Linked DNA regions of Homo sapiens: region 2 is linked to region 1. Evidence: promoter capture Hi-C in human tissues and cell types (Jung and others, 2019). All regions are on one chromosome and are shown on one strand. Each heading gives the region's core, a stretch centred on a gene start or on the middle of the fragment in contact. The rest is flanking DNA. Distances are from core to core; before and after follow the strand shown.

Region 1 (3,476 bases), core at 686-3,185:
TACCAAAATATCAATGACACTCATCACAGAACTAGAAAAAAAAATCCTAAAATTTGTATGGAACCACAAAAGACCCTGAAAAGCTAGGGCAATTCTGAGCAAAAATAACAAAGCTAGAGGCATTCCTCTACCTGACTTCAAGTTGTACTACAAAGGAAAGCAAATTTTTGTGTCAGTGTAGTAGTTGAGGAGCTGCCACCACAGCCCCTGGAGAAGCACTTAGAAAAGACTTGCCTCATGGTCTTTTATTGACTATCCTGTTAAAGGCACTAGGAGAGGTAGATAGGATTTGACTACTTCATTTCCACCCTGATTCTTGTCCAGTTGCTTACCACCTACATACATTCTCACACATTCCTCACCAGGGCCCCAGCTCATGCCCTTTCCTGAGCCCTGCTCTGTGGCCGCCAGTCCTCTCCCAGGTAAGCATTCCGCCTTCTTTCCCTTCCCCTCTTCAAAACTTAGTGCAAAAGTTTCTGGGCCTAGTTCGCATCTTTCTGATTTTTCTCATCTCTGAAATGGGAATAATAAGAATGATAGTGGGAATAATAATAGAAACCTGTGATAAAACCTGTGAATTACAGTTGCCGTAAGGATTAGATAACATTATACATGCTTGAAAACTTGTTGGAAACTGCGAAGGACTATAAAAACAGAAGTTGTTTTTATTGCCTTTATTCCTAAAGAAGATTGCAAGTGTCAGGGTGTTCAGGTGCTTGGCTGCTTGTCTCTCAGAGTGAATTAATGTGAGATGTTGCCAAGTGTTTCAAAAGGAAAATCCACTCTACTTCAGCGGGACGTCCACCCACCTTGCACAAAACCCTCTGGAAAGAAGTCTTTCGGTTTGCAAACTGGAGGCGTGGGAAAACAGAAAGCGCCCAAGGAGCACCTGCCCGCACCCCGCCCGCCCCCAGGCACCTGGGGCGCTGCCGCCTGCAGTCCCGGGAACCCCTATGACCTCCGGGGGCGGTGTGGAGAGCGCTCGCCCGCCTGGCCAGGGGAAGCCAAGACTTAGGGCCCTAGGAGTTAACTAGGTTGATTGATTTTGCAGTTGACCAAGAACTTCAAAACCCCCCGGGCGGTACCGGTTACTTCGGGGAGGCCCGCACACTTCCTCCGGGAAGGCCAGGAAGTAAGTGATGGTGCAGTAAAAATGACAGATTCACGGTTGTGGAAGAAGTAGGGTATATTTTTGGAGCAGCTCTAGCTGTCCCTGTGTTGGAAGAACGAGAGGGACCTGGGAGTCCGTTTCTCCACTCATCTCAAGAACCGCACGTCCTGCCAGGTCACCGAGGCAAGTGCTAGAACGGAAGAGAGCAAGCACTGCGAGGAGGCCCGAGGAGCCACGCAATCCAGACACCCGCCGCATGTCGCAGTCCGCCCAGGACGGGGGCGCGGGCTCACCTGTCTGCGGGGCGGCCCTTGGCAGGCCTGTTTCCATGGGTGAACAATGGGCACCTTACCAACTAACCTCCCTCGCCGAAGAGGGGCTGAAGTGTTTCTATTTCGACCTCCCTACAAAAACTACCCGAGAAAATAGGAGTTATGTTTTTAGTTCGAAGAAAAAAATAATGCTATAAATGTGACTCCTGCGGAGAAATGCTTCTCAGGTGTGAGAGGGGAACTGGGTAAGAGGACGGCTTAGAGGAAGGACAAATGGGACAGGGCTTATGGGGCATGTGAATGTAAATCGGCACATGTGCGCACATATGCAAAAATACAGTGTCAAGACTCACGGCCTTTCTGGGTCACGCAGGCTCCACCGTCTAAGGAGACGGAGTCACCAACAGTACAAGTCCCGACGGCCAAGAGGGCCCATTTTCTGCGCTTGCGCAATCATCACGTTTCCTTCCCCGCCCCGAGCCCCGCCCCCGAGCGCGCTCCGCCCCGCCCCCTTCTCCTCCCCTTCCCCAGCCAGGCCGCCGGCGCAGAGCATTGTGGGACACAAACAAAGTGCCCCCAAACAGGCTGGAGTGAGCGGAGCGGCAACGGCGGCGGCGCCGGCCGCACGCGCGCGGCGGCGGCTCCCTCCCAACCTCCCCCTCCCCTCCCCTCAGTCCCCTTCCCCTTCCCCACCCCGCCCCGCTGGGAACACGCGAGCCGTCGCCGCGCTCCCCAAACAACCGCCTGCCCTCGGCCAACCGTCCCCAACGGTCGCCAGCGCGCGGCTCCCGGGCCCCCTCGCTCCTCCCCTCTGGCCCCTCCGAGCGCTGGGGGTGCTTCCCTCCCCGCCTCCTCGCACTCCCACTCGCGGGCACGCCGGTGGCTGTGCCGCCATGCCCCACCACAGGCTGCTCACGGGCCTAGGCGCGGCGGCCCGAGATAGGGGCCCCTGAGCCTCCCGGGGGAGGAGAGAGGCAGCGAGCCGCGCTCCGCCCCCTCCCCCCGGGCCGCCGCCGCCGCCGCCTCGCCGCCCCAGCCTGGCGGGAGAAGGAGGAGGAGCAGCAGGCCTCCGGGCCCGGCGCCGCCGCCCGCAGGTAACGGGGAGGGGAGGGCGGGCTCCGGTCGCGCGGGGGACGGCCCCTGCACGCTGCCCGTGGCTGACACCGCGTGGCCCCCACCTGGCGCCGAAGGGAGCGGAGAGCCGGGTCTGTCAGCCTAGTCCGCGCCGGGAGACACCCCACGGGATCCCCTCGGTGGCATTTAATCCTTCTGGGAGGAGACCGGCCTTGGGCCCCGCGGTCCCGGAGCAGTTACCCCGACCTTCCAGGGAGCTGCCCGTCCTTTGCACGCCCATTTGCCCAACACCCTAACCCGGAGCGGCCGGAGTGTTGCCACCTCTCACCTGGTCGAACCCGGGAGGCTCAGACCTGTTTTTTTTCCTCCTTTCCCCTTCTGCTTTTTCTCTGGTACAGAAAGAAAAAGATGGCACTTCTTTAAAAAAATATATATATATATATATACACACACACAAACACACACACACATACACACACACACACACCTCTTTTCCTTTCCTTCCTGAGGATCACTCTGCATCTAGTCGTTTTATTGCTGGCCTAATCAGAAAAAGGGGTTACCTCGAGAAATGACAGGTACGTTAGAACTGATTAAAAGGAAATTGCGTCCATGTGAGTTCTATGAATCCAAGCAGAATTTACAATAAAACCCCGTAATTGTGTGCTTTTTTTTGGAACTTACAAAAATGAAGACAAAAACTTAATTTCTTTTTCAGCGTGTAAGTAGATAATCTCTTGAAGTCAGGAAGAAATTCTCCATAACTTCCACTTATTTTCTTAATGCTTTATTTGGAGATCGGCTGATACCGGAAGCAAGCTGCACGATTTTGATTTCCTTTTCTCTAGGTGTTCAGTTGGAATTCTTGGGTTTAAAAAATACTGTATAAATCTTCATTTCCCCCATTACTTCACTTGGACTGTCAGTGGATTAATAATAATTTTACCTAATGTAGTTTCCCCTTATCATAGAATGTGAATATAATGAACGTAGTCCTTTAGTTTTGTATTTTAGGATTA
Region 2 (3,476 bases), core at 455-2,954, 580 kb before region 1:
CTGTTCCTTCCATGTGTTCCTAACTTTTCCTCTTCTTGTCTGCTTGGCCTACTGCAAAACATTTTTCATATATTAAGCATAAAATGTCATTTATTCTGTGAAACCTTCTGTAGCATCTGCTCTCTTTCCCCGAGAATTAAGGAGTCCTCTTCTCTAACTTGCAAAGTTTTGATAATAATACTTGTCACAGTGTGTTTATATAAATGATCTGCTTTTCCTACACTAGTGGTTGTCAACTGGGGTACACTTTTGTCCCCCAGGGGACACTTGCCATTATCTGGAGATATTTTTTGTTGTCACAACTGGGAAGGAGATGTGGGATGCCTACTGGCATCTAGTGGATGTAGGCCAAGGATGCTGCTAAACATCCTGCAGCTACACAGGACAGTCCACCATGCCAAACAACGTGAATTATCCTGCCCAAAATATCAGTGTTACCAAGCTTGAGAAATGCTGTGTAGACTATTAGTTCTTTAAGGACCGGAACTAGCTTTGTCTCCCCAGCAGCTTATACAGGGCCTGGACATAGTAGGTACTCATTAAATATTGAATAAAGAAATAAACATTTCCCTTCCCAGTACCTTTACACTTGAAAGTATAGTCTCTTTAGTTTTATTCTGTCACCTCTGGATGTCACTAATTAGGCCTTCATTTCTCTTCTTCTTTTTTTGGACTTCCCTTTGCTAATCTTCTAAGTGGTTTAAAAAAACAAAATGAGAAGATCCCAAAACTAGCTAGTGTGTGATCTAATATGACCCCTTCTCCTTGAGGTCATTTACATGACAGATTGGTTTCAGAACACGAGAAATTATTCAGTATGAGGATAAAAGTATAGATGAGTTAGGAGAAATTCAAAAAAGATTGAGATCCTTATATAAAAGGGGTAGGAAAAAGTTGACCTGAAGTTTGAATAACTCAGAGTGCTCAAGGGTTTGGGCTAGTCCAGATAAAGGAGAAATACCTATATTCTGGGAGTTAGAGAATGATCACAGAAGTACTTTTTCATGTGGCCGGGGCCCTGGGAGATCTAAGGCAGAAAAGTTAAATACGAGCGAAGCAAGCTCCAGCTGCGTGGCAGACATGGAAAAGACAGGGCTCATTTTAGAGTTCAGAGCAGAGGCTGTGAGACTTCTTTCTTTTTCATTTTTCATATATTGAGGATAAAATGTCAATATATGAAATATCAGTGAGATGGGATTTCATTCTGTCGCCCAGGCTGGAGTGCAGTGGCACTGCAATCATAGCTCACTGTAACCTCCTGGGCTCAAGCCATCCTCCCACCTCAGCCTCCCAGGTAGCTAGGACTACAGGCACACACCACCGTGCTTGGCTAATTTTTTAAATTTTTTGGTTGAGATGGGGTCTCACTATGTTGCCCAGGCAAGTTCCTCACCTTTCCATTCCTGTCCCTGACACTCCCCAACTACAACCACAACTCCAGTGAGCTGGGTAAAGTCTGGTGAATGCAGACTAGCAAAACCCAAATGTAGCTCATGCCATAAAGGAAATGAGGGAGAGGGCTTACAGCTGAATTTCCCTAGACTTTCTCCTCTTTTCACATTCTGACTTTTTGTTTTTTGGTTTTGTCTTATTCTGTTTTATGGAAAAGCATCACTATTGTGATGGGAAAAGTGGGAAAACTCTGAATATATTTGGTGAATTTGAATGAAGCCACTGTGAATATTGGGCAAGAACAGCATTTTGCGGCTAGTTACTTTTGAAAAACTTGTTGTAACTATGGCCTGTTATCTTTGGTTCATTGTACATATTTCCAGGTGAAGATGTTTTATACATGTTCAGTTACCTCATATCCCTTCCTGTCAACAAGTTCTTATATCTAAGAATACAACTTTATCCTTAGCCCATTTGGTTTTGTATTAGCTGCAATGAAAATAGGACCACATCTGGTTAGCAGTCTCCTCACCCAAGCTTCCACAGACTAGAATTAAATGAAGAATCTCATACTTCTCTGTTTGAGGCCATTCATGTATCCCTACAAATCATTTTTCCCATCTTTTTAATGACATTTTTGGCCCTCTTCTGAAGTACCTTATAGCTGGTTTCACAGTTTTCCTGAAGCCTCCTTAAGATAGGAAGCTAGAAGTCATGATATCTAAAGAAAGAACCGGTTCTTCCACTAGAGCTTCCAAAGATCTGGCACTGGTGGCCCATGGTCTCATACCTGGAAGCACCCTGTGCATTATAGACATGGAGCTAACACATTTTAGCATTCAGAGTGTAAACGTTGATAATCTCGTCAGCATCAGCACATTTGCTGTCCAGCAAATGTTTATCGAGAGTTGACTTAGTGCAAATACTGTACTGAACACTGTATGCACATGCTGTTCAAAAGCCACAGTTACTTTTGCACCAACTTAATACCATTTAATTCCTCCAAGTCCTGCGAAAGCGGTACTATGACCCTCATTTTAAAGACAAGGAAACTAAGGTTTACAAAGAATGTGGGTTATCTAGTCAAAATCACAGGGTTAATAAATATCACAAGCAGAATTTGAACCCAGGTTTTTCTGATTTATAGCTGTGATGATTGTCTAAATTTCAGGATCAGATCTTTGCCCTGCAATTCAGCAGGATAAAAGCCAACCCAAAAATCTCTGTCTCCAAGTACTGGAGATTATCAGGCAGTTTGTAGAATCCAAACTGCATCTCCGTATCTACACACTTGCAGCTAACCTAAGGGCAGTGCTGCAGTCTAAAGACAGCCCATGTTACTATCCCTGGGACAGTTGCAGGTTTTAATTTTAAAAAGTGGTGTATGCATTGCTGCATGCTTCAGCTTTATTTGCTTTGGTAAGCCAATATGCTGGAAACTTGACATCTCCAGAGCTGCAGCACCTCTCCACTGTACCCCCTGCATCTCCCACAAGAGGCATGATATGAGGTCCCGTTGCCTCCCATCCCCATGACTGCTGCCTAGGAGGCTACATGTTTGTCCTCCCTGAAACCACGGGTAGCTGAGCCATATGCTTTTGCAGGGTACTTGGGTTCTCTTCCTTTAAGTTCCGTGCTTAAAAGAGCAGGATAGTTGGTGTTGGTGCCACACGTGGTACTGCCACTTCTCTAGTTATTTAGAACTCACTGCAGTTTGACCATCAGGGATGCTGTAGTCACCAGATTTGAGTGCATCTCCTCCTTAAAATGTCCTCATGTTCCAACCTCCAGTATTATTATCCCCAAGCAGGCAAGTTTATTCCTCTGCTTCCAACTTTGTATACCCATCTTGCAACTTTAAAAGACCTGTGTACATTACTGCCTTGGACGCCATAGACTTCTGTCAAATTATAAGCACACTCTCTATCCTGCAAAGGAAAAAAAAAAAACAGAGTAAGTTCGACCTCATAACCCCTCCTTCTAAGCCAAAGTTGGAAGAGCTCTGATCTGAGCCAGGCTTATAAATCTCCGTTGATTGTTGATGATGTGGAGAGAAGTGGGAGGGGAGCTGAAGAGAAGTTAGA

The links. The method cuts DNA at HindIII sites, captures the fragments that hold promoters and counts their contacts. A contact is called where the count stands out against the background at its distance.
Region 2: a fragment that was not itself captured here is called in contact with the fragment with the promoter of ZBTB44 in region 1 in 1 of the 25 tissues and cell types used here (spleen).

What each region holds. Positions count from the first base shown.
Region 1 is chr11:130,313,376-130,316,851 of GRCh38, reverse strand. ZBTB44 (zinc finger and BTB domain containing 44) reads left to right here and starts at 1,935. Exons shown (of 8, transcript NM_001301098.2): 1 at 1,935-2,477. It overlaps ZBTB44-DT (ZBTB44 divergent transcript), which reads right to left and starts at 1,859. Exons shown (of 7, transcript NR_148980.1): 1 at 1,737-1,859. RefSeq lists silencers at 842-901, 1,812-2,641 and enhancers at 1,202-1,301, 1,472-1,571, 2,732-2,781. The HindIII fragment of the contact is 15,077 bases long and covers 1-3,476 here.
Region 2 is chr11:130,898,018-130,901,493 of GRCh38, reverse strand. The region is part of intron 8 of SNX19 (sorting nexin 19); the gene reads left to right. Among named protein-coding and RNA genes, the nearest start is that of SNX19, 17 kb to the left of the region's middle. The HindIII fragment of the contact is 3,464 bases long and covers 1-3,436 here.